Linked DNA regions of Homo sapiens: region 1 is linked to region 2. The links are contacts of gene promoters, found by promoter capture Hi-C in blood cells and fetal thymus (Javierre and others, 2016). All regions are on one chromosome and are shown on one strand. Each heading gives the region's core, a stretch centred on a gene start or on the middle of the fragment in contact. The rest is flanking DNA. Distances are from core to core; before and after follow the strand shown.

What was found. Contacts are between HindIII fragments. The CHiCAGO score rates a contact against its expected background, and 5 or more counts as called.
Region 1: a contact is called between a fragment that was not itself captured here and the fragment with the promoter of CACNB4 in region 2, in 1 of 17 cell types (M2 macrophages). The highest score is 6.6, in M2 macrophages.

What each region holds. Positions count from the first base shown.
Region 1 is chr2:152,041,850-152,049,063 of GRCh38, forward strand. The region is part of intron 2 of CACNB4 (calcium voltage-gated channel auxiliary subunit beta 4); the gene reads right to left. Among named protein-coding and RNA genes, the nearest start is that of CACNB4, 54 kb to the right of the region's middle. The HindIII fragment of the contact is 8,488 bases long and covers 307-7,214 here.
Region 2 is chr2:152,094,308-152,101,517 of GRCh38, forward strand. It overlaps CACNB4 (calcium voltage-gated channel auxiliary subunit beta 4), which reads right to left and starts at 4,737. Exons shown (of 14, transcript NM_000726.5): 1 at 4,642-4,737; 2 at 4,023-4,106. The coding sequence starts at 4,704. RefSeq lists a silencer at 4,646-4,935. The HindIII fragment of the contact is 7,735 bases long and covers 1,154-7,210 here.

The sequences.
Region 1 (7,214 bases), core at 3,301-5,800, 53 kb before region 2:
ACCCTGCGTGAGCACTAATTCCCCTGTTACTTCCACCAGAACACAAACCCAAACAGGGCAGAGCCTCTGTCCTGCTCACGCCATCATTCCCAGCACTTGGAATAATGCCCAGCACATAGGAGGTGTTCAATAAATAGTTGAAGGAGTGAAAGAAAGAGCAAACTATGTGATCTGTTCAGTCTGCCACACTTCTAGCCAAACCTCACCCTAAATGCAGAGCCAGAATGGGCCATGCTGGGAAACAATACTCTATCTCCCCAGTGCCTAGGGCCAGGTAAATGACTCTGTAAGGGACTAAGTCCCAGAAGCTTCCAAACTAATTGCTACTAAGCATGGAGAGAAAGCCATAATGCCATTTTTTAGGTTCCCCTACTAACTAATCTAGGGTCACCAGCAAGGCCTCAAACAGCATCTTGCTCCTCTTCCCGCATAACCCTAGGAACGCTTTCCAATTCCATTTCCTTTCATCCGTCTGCTCCCTCCCCAGGTCTGGTTCTTATATGTCGTAGCTTGCCAGGGGGTTGGACCATATTTCTTGGAGCCTCTACTTCTTCAGGCTCCTGCTTAACAAAGGTCTGGACCTTTCGGGCCTCTGAGGATCCCTGAGTGAGTCCTACAGACCTGGCAAGCTACTCTTGGAAGTCAGGTTGAAGTCAAAACAGCTAGACTAGCAGTACCATTGACCCAAATCACCGGCTAAATGTACTACATTATTTACTGCTCATATTGTGTGGCCATCTGCTGATAGCAGATAATCATTTTAAAAAAAGATCAAAAAAAGAAAAATGGCACTTTATATCTTATGTTCCCCCTTCTGGCTGAAAGTGTTGTTAATTTTATTTATTTTATTTTTTTAGAGATGTTTTCAGACGCGTTTGAACCAGAGCAACTCCATCTTGAATAGGAGCTGCGTAAAATAAGGCCGAGACCTACTGGGCTGCATTCCCAGGAGATTAAGGCATTCTTAGTTACAGGGTAAGACAGGAGGTCGGCACAAGATACAGGTCACAAAGACCTTGCTGATAAAACAGCATGCAGTAACGAAGCCGGCTAAAACCCACCAAAACCAAGATGGAGAGGAGCGTGACCTCTGCTCGGTCTCACAGCTCATTATATGCTAATTACAATGCATTAGCGTGCTAAAAGACACACCCACCAGCACCACAACAGTTTACAGATGCCATGGCAACGTCAGGAAGTTACCCTGTATGGTCTAAAAAAAGGAGGAACCTTCAGTTCAAGGGAATTGCCCACTCCTTTCCCAGAAAACTCATGAATAATCCACCCCTTGTTCAGCATGTAATCAAGAAGTAACAATAAGTATAAGCAGCTGAGCAGCCCGTGCCACTGCTCGCCTATGGAGCAGACACTCTTTTATTCCTTTACTTTCTTAATACACTTGCTTTCACTTTATGGATTTGCTTCTAATTATTTCTTGTGCAAGATCCAAGAACGTTCTCTTGGGGTCTGCATTGTGACCCCTTTCCAATAACAATGAGGTCTCACTTTGTTATCTAGGCTGGAATGCAGTGGCATGATCATAGCTCACTGCCACCTCAAATTCCTGGGCTCAGGGATCCTCCCACCTTAGCCTCCAGAATGGCTGGGACTACAGGCACACACCACCATACCTGCATAATTTTTAAAATTTTTTGTAGAGATGAGGTCTTGCCATCTCCAGGCTGGTCTCAAACTCCTGGTCTCAAATGATCCTCCTGCCTCAACCTCCCAAAGTGCTGGGATTACACGTGTGAGCCACCGTGCTTGTCCCAGTTTTTTTTACCTTCACACTTAAAGTGAGAGGGACTATGTGCGTGTATACACGTATACATACATACATACACATATGTACACCTACTGGGGTTCTGTAACATATTTGTGGCAAGATGTCTCAAATTCACTTATTTCTTTTGTTAAATAAATTGACTGATAGAAACCACTTTTCAAGTATTAAATTGCTCAACTGAGCAACATCATTCTTCAAATGTTAAACTGTTAAATTGAGAGGGCTTCTTTTCCAGGCTTCACAAACATTTGATTCTATCAGATTTCAGTTAATTAAAAAAACCAAAAGAGCCGGGCTTGATGGCACATTCCTATAGTCCCAGTTACTCAGGAGACTAAGGTGAGAGGATCACTTGGGGCAAGGAGTTCAAGGCTGGCCTGGGCAACTCAGCAAGACCCTGTCTCTTAAAAATTTTTTTCAAAATCTTTCAAAAACCAATAGAATTACAAGAAAAAAATCCAACTAAATTACTGATGTAAAATATACTAAAAACAAAACGTGCTTCTTTCTCTGAAGCATGGAGAATATCTAAGATTACATCAAACACAAATGCACTTCTTTTAAAACAGATTTTATTTATTTTTATTTTTATTTTATTTTTCTGAGACGGAGTCTTGCTCTGTCGCCCAGGTTGGAGTGCAGTGGAGCAATCTTGGCTCACTGCAAGCTCCGCCTCCCAGGTTCAAGCAATTCTCCTGCCTCAGTCTCCTGAGTAGCTGGGATTACAGGTGCGCATCACCATGCATGGCTGATTTTTGTATTTTAGTAGAGATGGGGTTTCACCATGTTGGTCAGGCTGGTCTGGAACTCCTGACCTTGTGATCCGCCTGCCTCAGCCTCCCAAAGTGCTGGGATTACAGGCGTGAGCCACCGCACCCGGCCTTAAAGCAAATTATTAAAGGGAAATTTTCTATATAAAATCTACAACACAGGGTGGAGAAATCACTATTACTCCCAGGTAGGGAATTTATCAAGCACATCCTAATAATTAAAAACATTTAAAGGCCACATACAAATAAAAACTACTTAAAATGAAATATGTCCAATATTTTCCATCCCACACCCTTTGTTTGGGTCATTTTCTTTGGCTGGAATGAGTTTTCCCTCATCTTTGCCATCCTTTCATGAGCCTGGCCACCATGGCAGGTCCACAGCCTGACTCACTCAACTGCTACCGTGGGTCTCGTCTCCAATAAGAGACCATGAAAAACCCAAGGCCAGTTTCATTCTTCAAAATTTCCAGAGCACTTTGCACCCAAAAAGTTAACAATAATAAAAGTGTGCTAAACTGAATTGAAGCAGGGGAAAGAGAAGATGGGGAAGAGACGGTGGGGGGTTGGTGGGGCGGAGGAGAGAGATTTAGTGGAGAGAAAGGAGGATGTGAAGCAAGGGCATGAGATGATATTGGTCTGGCTTACAATTTCAAGCCAGAAAAAAAATGATTGCCACCACATAACTATGCCTAGCACATACAACTACATAAATACATGTACATATGTATGGATATGGAGAGGCATCATTGGCCAATTTTTTTTCAGTGCTTTCACATGCAGATATGCTTTTAAAGATAAGGACTGGGAATATACCAGTGTTTACAGCAGCGTTAGTCACAGTAGCCAAAAGGTAGAAACAGTCCAAGTGTCCATCAACAGAGGAGTAGCTAAAGACAATGTGGTATATACATACAACAGAATATTATCTAGCCTTAAAAAGGAAGGAAATCCTGTCTCATGCTATGACATGGATGAACCTTGAGGATATCATGCTACGTGAAATAAGCAGTCACAAAAGGACAAATATTGTGTGATTCCATTTATATGAGCTACCTACAGTAGTCAAATTTATGGAGACAGAAAGTAGAAGAGTGGTCACCAGGAGCTGGGAGGAGGAGCAAAAATTCTGCATCTAATGTACTTAGTGCCATTGAATGTATACTTAAAAATGGTGAAAATGGTAAATGTTATGGATATTTTACCACATTTTAAAAAAAAAAAGACAAGGAATGAAAAGGTGGATCAAAGTACACCCTCAAAGTCTTATAAGTAGCCTCTTCTCCCTCTCCCTCACGCAACCTCCAAGAGCACAGACTGGAATTCCCAGTCCTACAGTTCCAAGAGAGTTCAGACGGTACCTTAGGCATAGCTGTGCATCCCGCAGCTCTAAATACAGTGACTCGCAGCTAGCAGGGATTCATTAAACATTTGCAGATTCAATGAAAAGGAAAAAAACACAAGTAATGAACAGTTGGAAAGATTTTTTTAGAACATAGCTTGAAATAGAGGGGATGAAAAGTTCTGATAAATGAGCTAGAATGTAGGCAGATTGGAAATCAACAAGTCTTGGTCCTTAGAGTAACTGAGAATCAATGGAAGGATGGAAAACTTTTTCTTTAATAACAACCTCTATTATAATAAGAGAAAAATAAATTGATCATATAGAAATAAAATCAACATTAGTTAGCTTTTTAGATAAACAAGAACAAAAATGAGTTATTAAGAAGGAAGTGGCAATTATTTTACCTGGAAACTCTGATTATATAACAGTATATTTTTATATCATATGGATTGTCCATTCAGGGGAGGCTAGAATGGCCCAGAACACGTAGCACCCCTTTTCTATATGTGAGCACAGGCAGAAACATCACCAAAATTCCTTCCTGGAAAAAGACAGCTTATTAGAAACACAAATGCACACTGTGGCTCAGGAAGGTAAAAAGAGGTTAAATTACAAAAATGTGAAAGCAGCACCTTTGGCCTAGAGCAATTTTACAGAACAATCACTAAGATGATAATCTCTCTATAATTTCTTGCCTACAGCTATGGCTGGTTTCAACTTGACTGCTGCAAACAGGAGAATCTATTTTGCCTTTTATAAAATCTGTCTCTCCTCCTTCCATCTCACCCTCATTTCCTTTCTGGTTTAATTCTCCACCGTGACTACTCACAGAGTTCTATCTATTCAGCACTACACTTTGACCACTGGAAGTCCACACCTAAGACAGTCCTTATTTCTGCCCTTTTAAGATGTCGCCCTAAGCAGAGGAGAAGCAGGTAAGCTCTGCCTGTTGAGCTGTAGCCAGGGGAAAGGAGATGAGAATTCTGCCTGGTTTTCAGCAAACCTTGACTTTTTAAATTAATTAACCCTGAAATTCATCACAGGGTTATCATCACAGGCAGCTTGTCCAAGCTCAAGTATCTGCACTGAACTGTCTCCAGGCGCTACCACCCAGTTAGGAAAAAGGGTCTCTGACTATCCTGGGCTATGAGCACTGAACTTCTGCTAAAAAAAGATTCAGGCAAAGTGAAATTTCTTCACCTCAACATTATTGAGATGGAGTAGGGATCCCTCTTAGGGGCCTCCCCAGCTTCCTCTCAGCCTGAAAATAAAGAAAAATTTGAGTCCCTTCAAGGGAAATTCTGGGTACCTAGCTAGCCATGCAGCCAGCAACTAAGGAAATGAATAAATAACCTGCTAAGCAAGAAGGTAAAAATAGCGTAACAATAGTCACCCAAGTACATTAGACTCACGAGATGCTTGGTTCCCTATAGAAACTAAAAATAACATCTTGACATATGTCCCTGAGTCGTTTTTCAGAAACCCAAACCCTTACCAGATGGAAAATGTCAACCGCTGTCACACAGACCTCAAATAAGGGGGAAATGAAGACTGAACCCTGAGGACAGTTCTTTGTTGTCAATTTCTTCCTGAGGGGCCTAGAGAGAGTTATGCCCACAGGCCAAACCCTGACATTCCTTCCTGCTGACCCCAAGTTTTCAGATGAATTCTTACTTCCTTAACCAATTGCAAATCAAAAAATCTTTGAATCCACATACGACCTGTAACCTTCACTTCAAGATATCCCATCTTTTTGGGCCAAACCAGTGTATAATACCCATGTATTGATTTACGATTATGCTTGTAACTTCTGCTTTCTTGAAATGAACCCCTGCCTTTAAAACTAAAACCCCTCAGTTGTAGCCAGGCACGGTGGCTCACGCCTGTAATCCCAGCACTTTGAGAGGCCAAGGAAGTCTGATCACTTGAGGTCAGGAGTTTGAGACCAGTGTGACCAACACAGTAAATTAAAACCCTATCTCTACTAAAAATACAAAAATTAGCTGGGCATGGTGGCAGGCACCTGTAATCTCAGCTACTCAGGAGTCTGAGGCAGGTGAATTGCTTGAACCTGGGAAGTGGAGGTTGCAGTGAGCTGAGATTGAGCCACTCCACTCCAGCCTGGGTGACAAGGCAAGACCCTGTTTCAAAAACAAAACAAAACAAAACAAAACATCTCTTGCTTGTAAGCTATTGGAGAGTTCAGGTCTTAAGCATTCGCTGCTCAATTCTCTGTTTGGCACCCTGCCACAAACGCCTAACTTTCTCTCCCTGCAAATCCTAGTATCAGTGTTTGGATTTTTGTGCATGCTGGGTGAGAGGACTCAAGTTCAGTTGGGTAACACTGCTGACATCGTGGACCAGATGACTCTTTGTTATGGTGGGCTGTCTGTGCATTGGAGAATGTCTGACAGCATCCCTGGTCTCTACTCACTAGATGTACTACTCACTAGCACCCCCTAGATGTAACAACAAAAAATGCCTCTAGACATTACCAAAAGTTCCCTGGGGGGCAAAATCACCCCAGCTGAGAACCCGTGGGTTAAAGTGAGATTCCACCCTGCTGCCCACTACCATCAGAAACTTCTATCTGAATGCTCTTCACCCATCCCCACCTGCGCTATTCCAGATAACATGTGTTACATCCAGAAGGGGCCATCAGCAGACGGCCAGGCAGAATCCAAGGGAGAAAGAGAATCTGTCCAATAGGAAACCAACTGGCCTCCACTTCATCCCCACACTAAAAGGGAGAGAATAAAAAGTACCTGCAACACTTGTCTCCTGACGATGAGAGAAGTTGGCAGAGCTAGCACTTTGTTGGCCACCTTCTCTCCCACCTTATTCTTTGCCAATAAGGATTTACCCAGGATGTGAGCAGGAGAGACAGCTCTCTACAGAGAGAAGCGTGTCCCTCAGGACCTGGCCTGCACCCATGGGATGGAAACTCTGCCCTCTAGTCCAGCCTTGCAGTCCACTGGTTATAGGACCTTGGGCAAATCATTTAATTTTGCTGGATTTCTTTTTCTTCAGCTGTAAAGTGAAAGAGCCAAATCTTAGCCCTTCTCTGAGGTTGCTTCTAGATCTAAAGTACTACTATTTTAGGGACCAACTGTTGGGGAGGGTAAAAGAAAGAAGAGAGCAGATGGAGGCAGAAGAACCAAAGAAAGCACTGGAATACTCTCAGGTGACTGTATGGTGTGCACAAGAGAGGGCATGAGCTAGGTTTTTAAGAGAAATATGCAAGCTCCAGGCCATTGGTAACAATCAATTGCAATTTCTAGGATAAAGAAGGAAGAATTCATAAGCGGTAGCC
Region 2 (7,210 bases), core at 3,487-5,986:
AAGGACCAGTGGCAAGAGGGAAGACAGTGTGTTCAAACTCTGTGTCCAGAGCTAAGAGATCATGGCTCAAGATGAGGCTGGAAGCAGGCAGGGGCCAGGCCAGGTATGACTTTGCTGGCCTCATAAGAGCAGACTTAACAAGGAAAAGTCAACAAACTATTCCCACTCTGATCAGATTTTCTCTTCAAACCCCAGTGGGAAGAGGACTAACTTGGAGTACTCAGCCGTATAAACTGTATGTGTAGTGACACCCATGGGTAGATATACTTATGGATATATAATAGATACTCGGGGTACATGGTCATTGAGCCCGCCCTCTCGTTCCTTGTTACATGTCACCGTACTGTTTGTAGACATCTCTGTCTCCATTGCTAGATTATAAAAATCTTTGAGTACAGGGGCTGTGTCTCATCCATCTTTTCATTCCTCCCCTACAATATCTAACATAGTGCTAGGCACATAGCAAATACTTAAGTGTTTCCTAAAACTTTAAAATATGACTAGATAATCCATTCATAAATAGCCTGTAAGAAGGGCTCTCCTGAAAGAAAATTCTATGGCCTCATTTGGAAAGCCACTCCAATGATGGCAACACTCTTAGGAAGGTCTTGCTGTAAAACATCATTCCTTTCTAATTTGGGCCAGTTCTTGAGTTTCATCCCCAATGAAGAGTGAGAACACTTCATCACATTTCCAAAGAAAGCCTTTGTGTGTACTTTGAAGATCATTTCTGGGTCACTCCTAGCTTTCTTTCCTTTCAGCGGCAAAGTACTTCATCTTCTCACCTTTCCTCAAAGAAGCCATTTATTTGCTCCCTGGATTCATTCCAAAACCTCCATCCCTCCTAAATGGTGGAAGCCAGAAATCTTGTAGACCAGAAACAAGGTCAAAGATTCCTGAGGGGCTTCATGAGCAGTCCTCAGAGTGGAAGCAGGCTCTCTTTCTCAGTCTGCTTGTTTTCCAGCCAATTCAAATGTTCATGTGTGTGCATGCACACATATGTGCATATATAGTCTCAGAAACACTGAAACTTTTTAACAAGCTCAAAGAACAAATATTGTCTTATTGGGTGAGTTGCCAACTGCCTTCTCTGCTTCACCAACAGCCCAGTCTTCCCCATCCAATGTAACACATCGATTTTTTTTTTAATGAAAGCTTTTCTCCATATTTTTGTAAATAATATGATAAAGAAACTAGCAATATATATATTTTTTGGTATTCCACTATCTTCTTCAAAGGCATCACAAAGACTGTGAAACAGCACCAAGAAATTTCATCACTCCAATGTATCAAGAATTCAAATATCAATAAATCACTGGTCATTCTACAAATAATGAGACTCTGTTTTTGTTTGTTTGTTTGTTTGATGGAGTCCTGCTCTGTCGCCCGGCTGGAATGCTGTGGAGCAATACTGGCTCACTGCAACCTCCACCGCCTAGGTTCAAAAAATTCTCCTGCCTCAGCCTCCCGAGTAGCTGGGATTACAAGCACACACCACCACGCTTGGCAAATTTCTTTGTATTTTTAGTACAGTCGGGGTTTCACCATGCTACCAGGCTGGTTTGAAACTCCTGACCTCAAGTGATCCGCCCACCTCAGCCTCCCAAAGTGCTGGGATTACAGGCGTGAGCCACTGTGACCAGCCCAAGGCTCTGTTAACGTAAGCAGCTGTTATGCTTTCATAAAAAATATTTTTTGGCATTGGGGTGATTTCAATTTTATCCGAAAGTTATTGTTAAACTGCATTTGTAATCATTTTCCTTATCTCATCAAAGAAATGTAAATCCCTCAGTTATTTTTATTGTAGCCAATACAGAAGTCTGTATGATGTCATTTGAATGAGATCATGTGTAGTATACTCAGTGAGTTGTAAAGTGCTCATAAAAATTAAGTAGCCCGGGCATGGTGGCTCACGCCTGTAATCCCAGCACTTTGGGAGGATGAGGTGGGCAGATCACGAGGTCAGGAGATAAAGACCATCCTGGCTAACACGGTGAAACCCTGTCTCCACTAAAAATACAAAAAAGTTAGCCAGGCGTGATGGCGGGTGCCTGTAGTCTCAGCTACTCGGGAGGCTGAGGCAGGAGAATGGCGTGAACCCAGGAGGCAGAGCTTGCAGTAAGCAGAGACTGCGTCACTGCACCCCAGCCTGGGCGACAGAGCAAGACTCCGTCTGAAAAAAGAAAAAAATTAAGTACTATTTTTGTGCCGAAAAATAAGATTGTGTATATAATACAATTACAATTAACTCCTGAATTTAAATTAGACCATTTAATCAAACCAATGAATTCCCATTTCATAGATGAAATATATTTATTTAAAAAAATCTACTTTGCTTTAAATTATTCCCAAAATTATTTAGCATGCAATACTTTTAACATTTCTTAAGCCAGCACATAGCAGCACGCTTTACAAGAACTTATATATACATCATCTCAATCAGTTACGGGCATAAATTGAGAAAAGAGTAAGAATATTAGAATATTATTTTGTTTGTGCTTGGAAGGAAGAATAAAGCATTAGTGCAGTTATGTAGATGAACTCAAAAGTTTTAGTCAAACAGCTTATGGAAAGAACTGCTGTGTAATTAGTATTTCCAAGAATTTGCAACAATGAAACACCACTAAAAATAGGCACCTACAAAATAAACACCAGCAAGACCTCAAACAGTTGCATAACAGAAAAATGTTTTTAAGATAAACAATATGTTTGCCTTATCAAATACATAATCTAAATACTGCAAAGGGGATAGAATGCACTTTTAGAATGAATTCGGAATCCAAAATGCATTTATTTCCATAATGTACATGCTTAGTGCTCGCTGAATTAAATGGTAGTCAAAATTTCCGCTTCTGCAGAAAGTGAAATTCTGCATAATAAATATCATCTAAATATGCTTTATAGACCCTTTTAGGAGAGGTCTGAGTTCAATTTTGATATCAATTCCTCGTTGATATGTTTAAATTGATGATAATCACTAAAGAAACACCAGAGCTGCCATCATAGGTTAGAAAACACATTACACAATACTGAGTGACCTAGAGGGAAAAGAACTTCTCAAGGTCACTCCAGCAGCCCACAGGAAGACCTGGGATAAAAGCCTCTTGGTGCGATGACCAATGTCTTCCTAGGTCACCCGAAACCTAGGACACACCCCGACAATTTCTGTTCCAAAGAAAGATCAAGGTGACTCATTGCATGATCTCTCTAGCACCCAGCAGCCAGGGGTGGTTTCATTAACAGCACATGGACAGTTGGAAAACTGAGGACCAATTTCCTGTGCCAAGGTGAAAGGCACCTAAGCATTGAGCATTACCAGCGATCCGGAGATCCCGAGCACAGACAATTCGCACTAGAACCACGCAGGAGAAAGCAAGCACTAAGAAAACAAACACGAAGTGAAGGCGCACCCAGACCCGGAGCTGAGTGCTGGCCTTCGTTAATTCCTATTTAACCAGATACAGCTGTCTTTCCCTAACTAAGCGAATCCAAGAAGCGGTCCTAAAGTGAGAGTAAACTTTCTGCTCAGTGTCTTTCTTTTGACCGGAGCTTGACGATCTCTCCCAAGATCCAGACAGATAAGAGTATTCAAATTAGGACAAAACAGAAGAAACCACTAAATCTCAACTCGAATCAAACCAGGTCCCCGGCCCCGAGGGGTCTGGTTACTCTAGGTCGAGTTATACGAATTAAAGACATTTCTCCACGCACCAAAGATACAACCAGACATATTTCCAGCTCTTAAATTCAACGTCCCTGACTTAAGCCAGGTCCCCACCGAACTGTCCACACACATGCACAAACTAACTTCCCGGGGCGGTGCGGAGACGCCGGGACGCGAAGACGTCAAGAGCCCAGGCTAGAGGGAGAGGGACTGAGCCCGAGCACCGGCCGAGGCCGGGAAGAGACGCGCGCGGGCTTGACCCGCAGCTCCCGCACGTGTGGGCCACGGCCGGCTCCAGGACCCCCGCGCCGCGCGCTCGGCCTCCTCCCCATCCTGGTCTCCCGCCTCCTTCTCATACCTGTCTGAGGATGAAGCTGGTCGAAGTGGTGCTGCCATCGGATCTTTTCAACCTGCTCCTCCGGGTTGTGGTGCCTCGGGCCACCTGGACTCGACACACGGGGGCCAGAGAGAAGCCGGTGAGGACCGCAGCGCAGAGCGGGGCGACCACCCCCGGCTGGAGTCCGCCTCCGGACCCGCTCCCTGGGGTCCCCTAGAGCCCGCACCCAAGTCTCCTCCGCGACTCCCAAATACAGCCCCCACCCCCACCCACCCACTGCAAGCCTCGACTGCTGAAAAGATGCTCGAGAAGAGCAGCCCGCAAGCACCCACCACATCCATTAACAAAGACTCTCAGGGTGCGGGGTCCGAGTCCCCGGCATCCGCTGGGGGAGGCTGCGGGCTCCGGAGCGGGAGCGCAGAGACCCGAAGGAGGGTGAGGAGGAGGAGGAAGAGAAGGAGGAGAAAGAGGAGGAGCGGGAGGAGAAAGGGACGTGGAGGAGGGGTGGGGGGAGCGGGGCCGCCGACTCCCGGGACTGGGGCCCCGCACGCCCGGCACGAAGGCGGGGCGCGCTAGGGCGGCGGAGGAGGTGTGAGGAAGGAAGAGGAGGAAGAGGAGAAGGGGGAGGAGGGGGCGGTACCTGCGAGGTGGGGGAGTGCGGCCCGTCCGCGGTCCCGTTCTTGGCGTAGGAGGAGGAGGACATCGTTCAGAGCCGCCGCATGGCCAGCCCGTGTGCGGTGGGCGGAGGGGGCTGGCCCCCGAGGCTGGGCTGCGGACGGAGGGGGAGGGCGCAGGACTTCCCCACCCGGCTCCAGGACCCGCGCCGGCGCCCAGGCTCCCTGCCCGCACTTCGGAGAGCGCGGCACCTTAAAGGGACCGAGGCGCTTCCCCCGCGCTCGCGGCGGGGTCCCGGGGAGGGGGCTTCTCGGAAACTCGCCTACCCGAGCGGATTGGGAGAAGCGCTCTCCCACCTAGCAAGCGCTTTACATCAGAGCTTCCAGAGGATGAAGGGAGGGGGAAATCTGGGATGGGGGTGGCAAGATTAAAATAGTCTGCACAGTTTAAAATGAGACAAAGGTGGCACGGTTCATGAATCAGGACTTGGGGACGGAAGCTGGTGCAGTGTGGCGGGAATGGGAAGAACCGAGCGGGTGTGTGTGTGTGTGTTTGCTGCACTGGAATTTTAAAAGGGCAAGAGCAGAGCCACCTTCCGCGACTTCACTCATCAGCCTAATGTGTAAGGCATGGGGTTTTGTGGCTTGCTTTTCGTCCGTGTTTTTGTATTGCTTTGGCAATTCTGTCCTTAGAGCTGCGAGTCACACACATCCAGGCAGCTGTGAGAAACCCAGCCAGCCTGAGTCTGACGGGAGATGCTGCCCCGCCAAAGACCAGTATGTCCTACGGAGTTTTGAAGGTCATGTTAGACCTGCTAAGAAGCAAGAGTTGGTCACTGTGCCTCCCATTTCTATGCGAATGGATATTTTCAAGGGGGAGAAACTCATCCTTGCAACCATACACAACGTTTGCCATTGGTTTCCTCCTGTAAATACATACAAGAGATTAATTTGTGATCAAATTAAAAGAGAGGGATTGCGGAAAGGAAGAATAAGTGCGAGGTATTGACAGAGGAATAAGAAGAGGGAAGAAAAGTATATGCAAATTCAAAAATAAAGAGACTCCGTTTAAATTAAAATATACTTACTATCTCAAATCGCTAAATCAGCTTGCATTCTAGGACTTTATGTTTATGGACACAACTACCATGCTTGTTTTAATAATTGCTTGGCTTTATTGAGGTCCTGGTTATATCTTACCATCCACCAGACACTTCCTTTCCATTCCTAATCCCTTCACTTAATCCAAACCTCTGTAACAATCTTATAACTAATGTCCTTGCCTCCAGGCTTCCTGGTGCATGTGCACGTATGCACATGCACACATACACACGCAGAGATTTCATTCCATCTACACACTACAGGCAAAACCATTTTCCTAAAATATCTTGCCCAAGTCACTCTTCTCTAAGATAAAGTCCAAACTCCATGGTCCAACAACTCAGCCTCTCCTGCATTTCTGATCACTCTCCATCTCATTTCTCCATCTTGATCTCTCTATACAAACCTTCCAGCAAGCAGGCAGGTCTAGTCATCAATACCCAAGTATTCCAAATACAATCACATTTGAGCTCTTCTGCTTTGGAATGCCTCCTTGGAATATGCCCTCCCAACAACCTACACACCCGGCTGAATCCTACCTTTCTTCTAAATGGGACTCAGCTCACGCTTCCTCCACAGAAATCCTATCTGACTACTCCAGTCCCACATAATTCTTGTGCTTCTGAAAAACTGGAGCATGTATTCTCTGGGCACTTAGAATAGGCTGCCTTAGCTTATTAGTTTGTTAGTTCTGTTTTTGTGAAAATCTCCTAATTTTCAGAATTTTTAGCGGTTTATCTTCTATTCCTATACCTTCCATATAGTAGATACTCCATGAATTTATGGGGAATGGAGGTCTAACCATGCAGGACTCCCTACTTTAGTTACTGTCAACCCAATCCGTATTTAGTTCTGAGCCATTTTCATAGTTGATACGTGTGTGCATATTAAATTACTATGTGAGCACTGGACTTTGAATTGTGTGGTTTTCCACTGTCCACATTCTCACTGACTTTAAGTTATTGAAACAGAACCCACAGAGGCATAACAACATGAGAAGCCCTGTACACCCAGCTCAAAGCAAAACTGGTGAAAATTATATGTTTTATATATAAGCAACCATTTAAATTTCTAAAAATGGTCCTAAAGGTGCACAACAAATGAAGGAACATTTATTCAAGAAAACCTACTGAAACCCAGTAAGAAAAGTGAGCTTGAGGTATTTGAACCAAGACCTACTCACTCTTTTCATGCTTCCAACTCAGAGAGGGCTCCACGCTATACTGGTGCAGCCAAGAACACAGGGCTCCCTCACCCTTCAGCTCCCAGTTGGAGGGTCAGCTTCCTAGGAGGGACAAAACATCAGCATTTGTCATCCTCCCCGCAGCTACCTGTTGTTGAGACTAAGTTCTAAGCAAGTATGGCAGAGGTGGGGGCTCCCTTCTTCTGCCCAGTTGTACCTGGAGGCTGTACCTTGGCCACAGCAGCACTGAGTGTACTTGGGCCTTGATCACCTTTGCTTCTGGCTCATCGAGAAAGAAGTCAGGAAACGTG